Linked DNA regions of Homo sapiens: region 1 is linked to region 2. Evidence: promoter capture Hi-C in 16 types of primary human blood cells and fetal thymus (Javierre and others, 2016). All regions are on one chromosome and are shown on one strand. The core of a region is centred on a gene start or on the middle of the fragment in contact, and the rest is flanking DNA. Distances in the headings are between cores, read along the strand shown. Region 1 overlaps RPS6KA4 (ribosomal protein S6 kinase A4). Region 2 holds the start of NRXN2-AS1 (NRXN2 antisense RNA 1).

The links. Contacts are between HindIII fragments. The CHiCAGO score rates a contact against its expected background, and 5 or more counts as called.
Region 1: a fragment that was not itself captured here is called in contact with the fragment with the promoter of NRXN2-AS1 in region 2 in 5 of 17 cell types (M0 macrophages, naive B cells, M1 macrophages and 2 more); the score reaches 7.4 in M0 macrophages.

What each region holds. Positions count from the first base shown.
Region 1 is chr11:64,365,057-64,368,128 of GRCh38, reverse strand. It overlaps RPS6KA4 (ribosomal protein S6 kinase A4), which reads right to left. Exons shown (of 17, transcript NM_003942.3): 9 at 2,664-2,828. Among named protein-coding and RNA genes, the nearest start is that of MIR1237, 2.0 kb to the left of the region's middle. The HindIII fragment of the contact is 224 bases long and covers 1,418-1,641 here.
Region 2 is chr11:64,642,080-64,645,298 of GRCh38, reverse strand. It overlaps NRXN2-AS1 (NRXN2 antisense RNA 1), which reads right to left and starts at 1,450. Exons shown (of 3, transcript XR_001748259.3): 1 at 717-1,450. All of the region lies in intron 17 of NRXN2 (neurexin 2), which reads left to right. The HindIII fragment of the contact is 13,173 bases long and covers 1-3,219 here.

The DNA of each region.
Region 1 (3,072 bases), core at 280-2,779, 280 kb after region 2:
CAGGGCGGGAGTCCGGGGAATGGGCATGGGCATGGGGGTTGGGGGTGCGGGTGAGGAGACTCTGGTGGGGAACCAGGCAAAGGCAAGACCCTGGACAAGGGGGCAGTGGGGGGTGTTCCAGTTGCATTCTGGTACACACAGGATGTGTGGACACTTTTTATTCCACCTGGTTTTATAATCACTTGGGGCCATGTCTGTCCCCACCAGCCTGTGACCCCAACTTTCTCATCAGAGTGACCACTTATTCCTCCCCAGGTGCCAAGGGCTGAAGGCACTGAAAGGACCAATGAATATATTGAAAGTGTGGCCTGAGTTCACGCTTAGCTTATGAGAATCCAACTCTATCCGCTGAGGAAAAAAAACTTATTCCTCCCTTTCAAGCCGGACTTTGGCTTCTTCTGCAAGGGGAGCTACTGAAGAAATGCAAAAAGAAGGCAGAGTTAATTCTTTGCTTTTCCTAAAGATCCATGTCCTGGCAATTTGAGGAGCTTTTAAGGGTCATTTTAATTGCGTGTTGTGGCCAGGCACGGTGGCTTGCGCCTGTAATCCCAGTACTTTGGGAGGCTGAGGCAGGTAGATCACCTGAGGTCAGGAGTTTGAGACCAGCCTGACCAACATGGAGAAACCCCATCTCTACTAATAATACAAAAATTAGCCAGGCGTGGTGGCACATGCCTGTAATCCCAGCTACTCGGGAGGCTGAGGCACGAGAATCGCTTGAACCCGGGAGGCAGAGGTTGCGGTGAGCCGATATCATGCCATTGCACTCTAGCCTGGGCAACAAGAGCGAAACTGCGTCTCAAAAAAAAAAATTAATTATCTGGGAGTGGTGGCACTTGCCTGTAGTCCTAGCTATTGGGCAGGCTGAGGTGGGAGGATCACTCAAGCCCAGGAGTTCAAGATTGCAGTGAGCCATGGTTGCCCAACTGCACTCCAGCCTGGGCCACAGAACAAGATCCTGTCTCTAAAACATTAATTAATTAATTTTAAAAAATAATTTTAAAAATAAACTATGTGTCATCTTCTCCTAAAAATGTAGTACCCAGATCCGTACCTGGAATATTTTAGGCACTCACTACACATTTTTGAATCATTAAATGAATGAATGAAAGTACCTACCAATTCAAGAGAAAGAACTTTATCATGAGGGCTGTGAGACAATGGAATGGAATGTGGACATTCAAGCACAGAGTTGTCAATTCTAAGAGCTTCAGAGAAGGGACTTATCCAGCCATACTTGGTCTGTCTATTAAACAAACCATACTGGTTTATTTAGTGATAATGATATAATATCATTATGGCAACATGATAAACTGCACAGAAGGAGATGCTGTCCACAGAGGACTGCAGCACAAAGAAAGGGTGACCCCCTGGGCCAGGTGAGCAGACAAGGAGGCCTAAAAGAGGGGTAGAAGCTTGCCATGTAGACTGCTGTAGAGAATGTACTCCAGGTAGCAGGAGCAGCAAGTGCAAAGGCACAGAGGTATATTCTGGAACCTCTGAGCAGTTCGATCATGCCCTCCAGAGCATCAAGTAGGAAAATGATGAGAACTGAGGCTAAGGTTCTAAGCAAGGACCACATCATGAAGGGCCTCAATGCCCAAGCAAAGGGAGTTTGGACTTGTCCAAAAGGTGTAAGCTTCTAAAATTCAGTAGAGGGGGCTTGGCATGGTGGCTCATGCCTCTAATCCCAGCACTTTGGGAGGCCGAGGTGGGCGGACCACAAGGTCAAGAGATTGAGACCATCCAGGCCAACATGGTGAAACCCCATCTCTACTGAAAATACAAAAATTAGCTGGGTGTGGTGGCGCACGCCTGTAGTCCCAACTACTCAGGAGGCTAAGGCAGGAGAATTGCTTGAACCCGTGAGGCAGAGATTTCAGTGAGCCAAGATCTAGCCACTGCACTCCAGCCTGGAGACAGAGTGAGACTCCGTCTCAAAAAAAAAAAAAAAAAAAATTCGGTGGAGGGGACCTGACCCTCCAGGAGTGTACCATGCTATGCCAAGGGCATGCAAAGCCACAATATCAACATGCATCTCCTCCTAGGTGTCCACGTGAGAAAGTGAAGATCTCTTTTTTTTTTTTTTTGAGACGGAGTTTCACTCAGTCGCCCAACCTGGAATGCAATGGTGTGATCTCTGCTCACCGCAACCTCCGCCTCCCAGGTTCAAGGGATTCTCTCACCTCAGCCTCCCGAGTAGCTGGGATTACAGGCGCATACCACCACATCCAGCTAATTTTTGTATTTTTAGTAGAGACGGGGTTTCCCCATGTTGGCCAGGCTGGTCTCGAACTCCTGACCTCAAGTGATCCACCTGCCTCAGCCTCCCAAAGTGCTGGGATTACAGGTGTGAGCCACCACACCCAGCCGCAAGTGAATAATTTCAAACAATATTTTTACATAACAATAAAGAGATGATGGAATAGAAGGGAAATTAACAGAAGGTTTAAAGATAAACCATGAACTATCAAACACACATCCTGCCTGGGTGGTCTCTGTGACTGACAACCCTAGGTCCCACTGAAGTGGCGACGTCTAGGGGAGACGCTGAGTCCCAATCAGGACACAAGGCCTAGGCAGTGTCCTCGGGCCAGCCAGGGCTGAGGCAGACAGCAACATCTCATCTCTCCTGCATCTGGGTTCCATGAGTTTCCCCTCACCTGAAAGATTCGGGGGTCCCCAGGTGGGGGGCTGCCAGGGGGTGAGTAGACAGGCTCCAGCCGAGTGAATTCCTCCGCAAAGTTGCCCACATCCAGCTCTGAGCGGATTTGGGGCCGGAATGGGGCTGGAATCTTCCTGGCAGCCAGAGCCACCCAATCGAGGCCCTGAGGGAAGGGAATCAGAGGTCAGGTGTCAAAGGCCAGGAACGAGAAACTCCCTCCACTCAGCCCACCCTCACTGGGCAGTTCCTCCATGAGGCAAGGGCCCATCTGGCATTTGGGGTGGGCAGCTGTTCCTCCTGCCTCCCTGGCTTCTCTCTCCCTCTGGTAACACAATCCCTATTCCCCTTAGAGAACCACCATGACACCACACTTAGTCAGTTCTGGAACTTTTAATAGAATTGGTGTG
Region 2 (3,219 bases), core at 201-2,700:
ACTGGTATTGATTGGCCTCTAGGCGGTTTCCCTTCCTTTCCTCTCGCCACCGGCTCCTCCCTCCCTCCCTGTGGAACCATAAATTTTCTGCCTGCTCAGAGCTGTGTCAGTCTATATTCCAGATCCAGGGGCCCAAGAACGTGATAGAGAGGGCAGGAGGACGTGGCCTCTGGGGGCCCCAGCCCTGCTCCTGGCATGCAGTCTCTCCTCCAGCACTGCATGGCTCGGGGCCCTGCACCACCGGAAGCCTCCTCTGGGTGCCTCTGAGGACCGCTTTCTTCACTTCTAAAGACCTGGGGGCCAAATCCAGCTCTGGCATGTAGTAGGGATGGAGGACTGGCAGCAGCATTGGGGAGATGTCCTGGGTCCTGACTGCATCCTGGAGCTGGGGGTGGCACATGGGGCTCGTGGTGACAGTTTTTGCTCCCAAATGGAGTTTAGAATCAATAAATAGGAGCCAGCTCTCTCCAGCCCCTCCCAGCCTCCTCTCTCCCAGCCCTCCCCTTTCTCACTTCACCCGCCCCTGCCTCCTGTCCTTTCCTTACCCAGCCCTCCTCCTCACTCCGCTGCACTGTTTCTTCAGCTCCCCCAGGTGCCCTCTCCACCTCTCTCCTCCTTTCCCTCCTCCTCTACCCTCTGCCTTCCCACCCTCTCCCCTGTCCGAGCAGGTTGGTGCATACGACCCGGTGACGGGAAAGGAGTCTCTCTGTGCTTACCTCTGGGGCCACAGGTGCTTTCCAGAGCGTCCAAAAGTTTGGGGGACAGAACCCAATTGGAGGGCATCCTGAAGGAGAAGTGGTTTCCTCAGCTTGACATACGTGGCCCAGGAAGGGTTTTGTCCTAAATGGGACACTCAGTGGGCAGGTGTCCTCTAGACCCCCCATGGAGGGAGAGGTTGGGGCTGGGGGAGGGGCAGTGGTAGTGGAGAGGAAGGATTGGAGGAGTCCAGGAGAGGCTTGTGCAGGGGGCTGGGGGAGCAGCTTTTTGGGGAGGTGGTGGGGAGTTGTACGTGTGTGGCATGTCTTATTCCTGAGTACCTCGAAGGCTCTGGGTGCACTGTATGCTGTGGACCCTATTTTGGAGGGTGAGCTTGGGGAGCAGGGGTGTCTGTGTGTATGTTGGCCATTCATGTCCTGTGATCAAACGTGTGTGTGCACGGATGTATGCCCTGTGAGCATGTGTATATGCTCCCCTGAGAGTAAGTTGGTGTGCCAGTGTCTGTGAGCACATGCATGCATGTATGTGTCTGAGCCTGTGTGCCTACCCGCACACTGTGCCCATATGGGCACGTGGATGTTTCCATACCCAAGCCGATACACATCTCAGTGTGCACGTGCGTTGCGAGGGGTGGTGCAGAGGTGGCCGCCGCGGCATCTCAGCAGGCTGTGCCAGAGAGCATTATTGGGGTTCATCCGGGTGGGGTGGGCGGGGAGGAAGAAAGTGGCCTCTCTTGCTAGCCTCAATCCCGTTCCATTATTCAGCAGGGTCCCTTCTCCAGGAGGGGGGTGCAGGAGGAGCGCGCGCGTCCAGGCGCGGGGGAGGGGCGGGCGCGCGCAGAGGAGAGGAGAGCGCCGAGCGGGCTAGCCAGGTGCCGCGCGGCTGAGCTGCCCAGCGCCGCCCGCAGATCGGGAGCCGCTCTGGTCCCTCCGCCCTGCCCCCTCCTCCTCCCGCGCTTCCCCTCCCCTCTCCGCTCTCCTCCTTCCCTCCCTCCCTCCCTCTCTCCCTCTCTCCCTCTCTCCCTCCCTCCCTCTCCCTTCCAGCCCTCTCAGCCTCTGCAGCAACACTTCGCTGCCTCCATCTCTCCGCCGGAATCTCGCAGGCTCGCGCCTTTCCTCGGCTCAGCCCCGCTCCCCTCCTCTCCTATCCCCTCCTCTCCTATCCCTTCATTCCCCCCTCACCCGGATTTGCTTCCCTTCCCCCTTCTCCCGCCCCCCCCTCCCCCGGCCGCTCCCTCCTTTCCCCCGGCCTCCGTCGGGCGGCAGCGGCAGCAGCGGCGCGGCCGGCCCCAGTCGCCGTCGGTCTCCCGCCTTCGGGGGAACCAGGTCTCCGTCCCTCTTCTCTCCTCCAGCCCGCACCGCCCCGCTCCCCAGCTCGGTTTTTCCGCAGGATTTCCCTCGCTCTCCCCTCCCTGCTTGGCCCCCGCGCTCCCCTCCCTCTCCACTCGGCACCATGCCCCCTCCCCCGGGCGCTCCCCCGGGTTTCTGACGGCCCTCTGCGCCGCTCCGACCCCGCCGGGATGCAGAGAGACCCCTAGCTCCTCGCGATGGACCCAGGCATCCTGGACCTTGGCGTTGCCGCTCCGCGGACCCCCGATTTCCCGGCGGGATCCAGTTGATTTTGTTGGCTCCGGACCGAGGCTTGGGCCCTGGTTTACCTCCGCTTCATCCCTACCCCGCTCCCGGAGCTCGGAGCCGGAGGGGGGCTTCGCGGGGCTGCGCAGCCCCGCGTCCCCGCCCCCGGCCATGGGGCTGTGAGGCGGTCGCCCCCGGGCCGAAATGCCCCCCGGGGGGAGCGGGCCGGGGGGGTGCCCGCGCCGCCCCCCGGCCCTGGCTGGGCCCCTGCCGCCGCCTCCACCGCCGCCGCCGCCACCTCTGCTGCCGCTGTTGCCGCTGTTGCTGCTGTTGCTGCTGGGGGCGGCCGAGGGGGCCCGGGTCTCCTCCAGCCTCAGCACCACCCACCACGTCCACCACTTCCACAGCAAGCACGGCACCGTGCCCATCGCCATCAACCGCATGCCCTTCCTCACCCGCGGCGGCCACGGTAAGTGGCACTGTAGATGCCGGCCACCCGGTTGGCCCGGGGGCGGGGGGCGCTTCCCGTGTGCGCAGCTGGGCCCCCGCGGGCCCCACCCCAGCTGTGCACGCCGAGCCTGGCCCCTCTGCTTTGCGTCCCGGAGCCCCTTCACCTCCAATCTCCAGCTCCCATCATCTCAGCCCCACCCTTGCCTCCATCTCTCCTCTCCCCCATCACCCTCATCTCTGTCTTCAGCACTTTGCTTCCTGGCCTCACCTAAACCTGCTTACCCCTAGGTCTGGTTCATTATCTCCTTCTACTTCCTTACCCTCCCCGCCCTGTCTGTCCTTTCATCCTCTCCGTGCAGCTCTGCCTTCCATTTCTCTTGCGCATCACCTTCTCCATCTCGGCCCCTTATCATCTCTCCATCTGTCTTGCCTCCACCTCTGCCTCACCCTCACCCTTCCATCGCTGGTCTGTCATCTC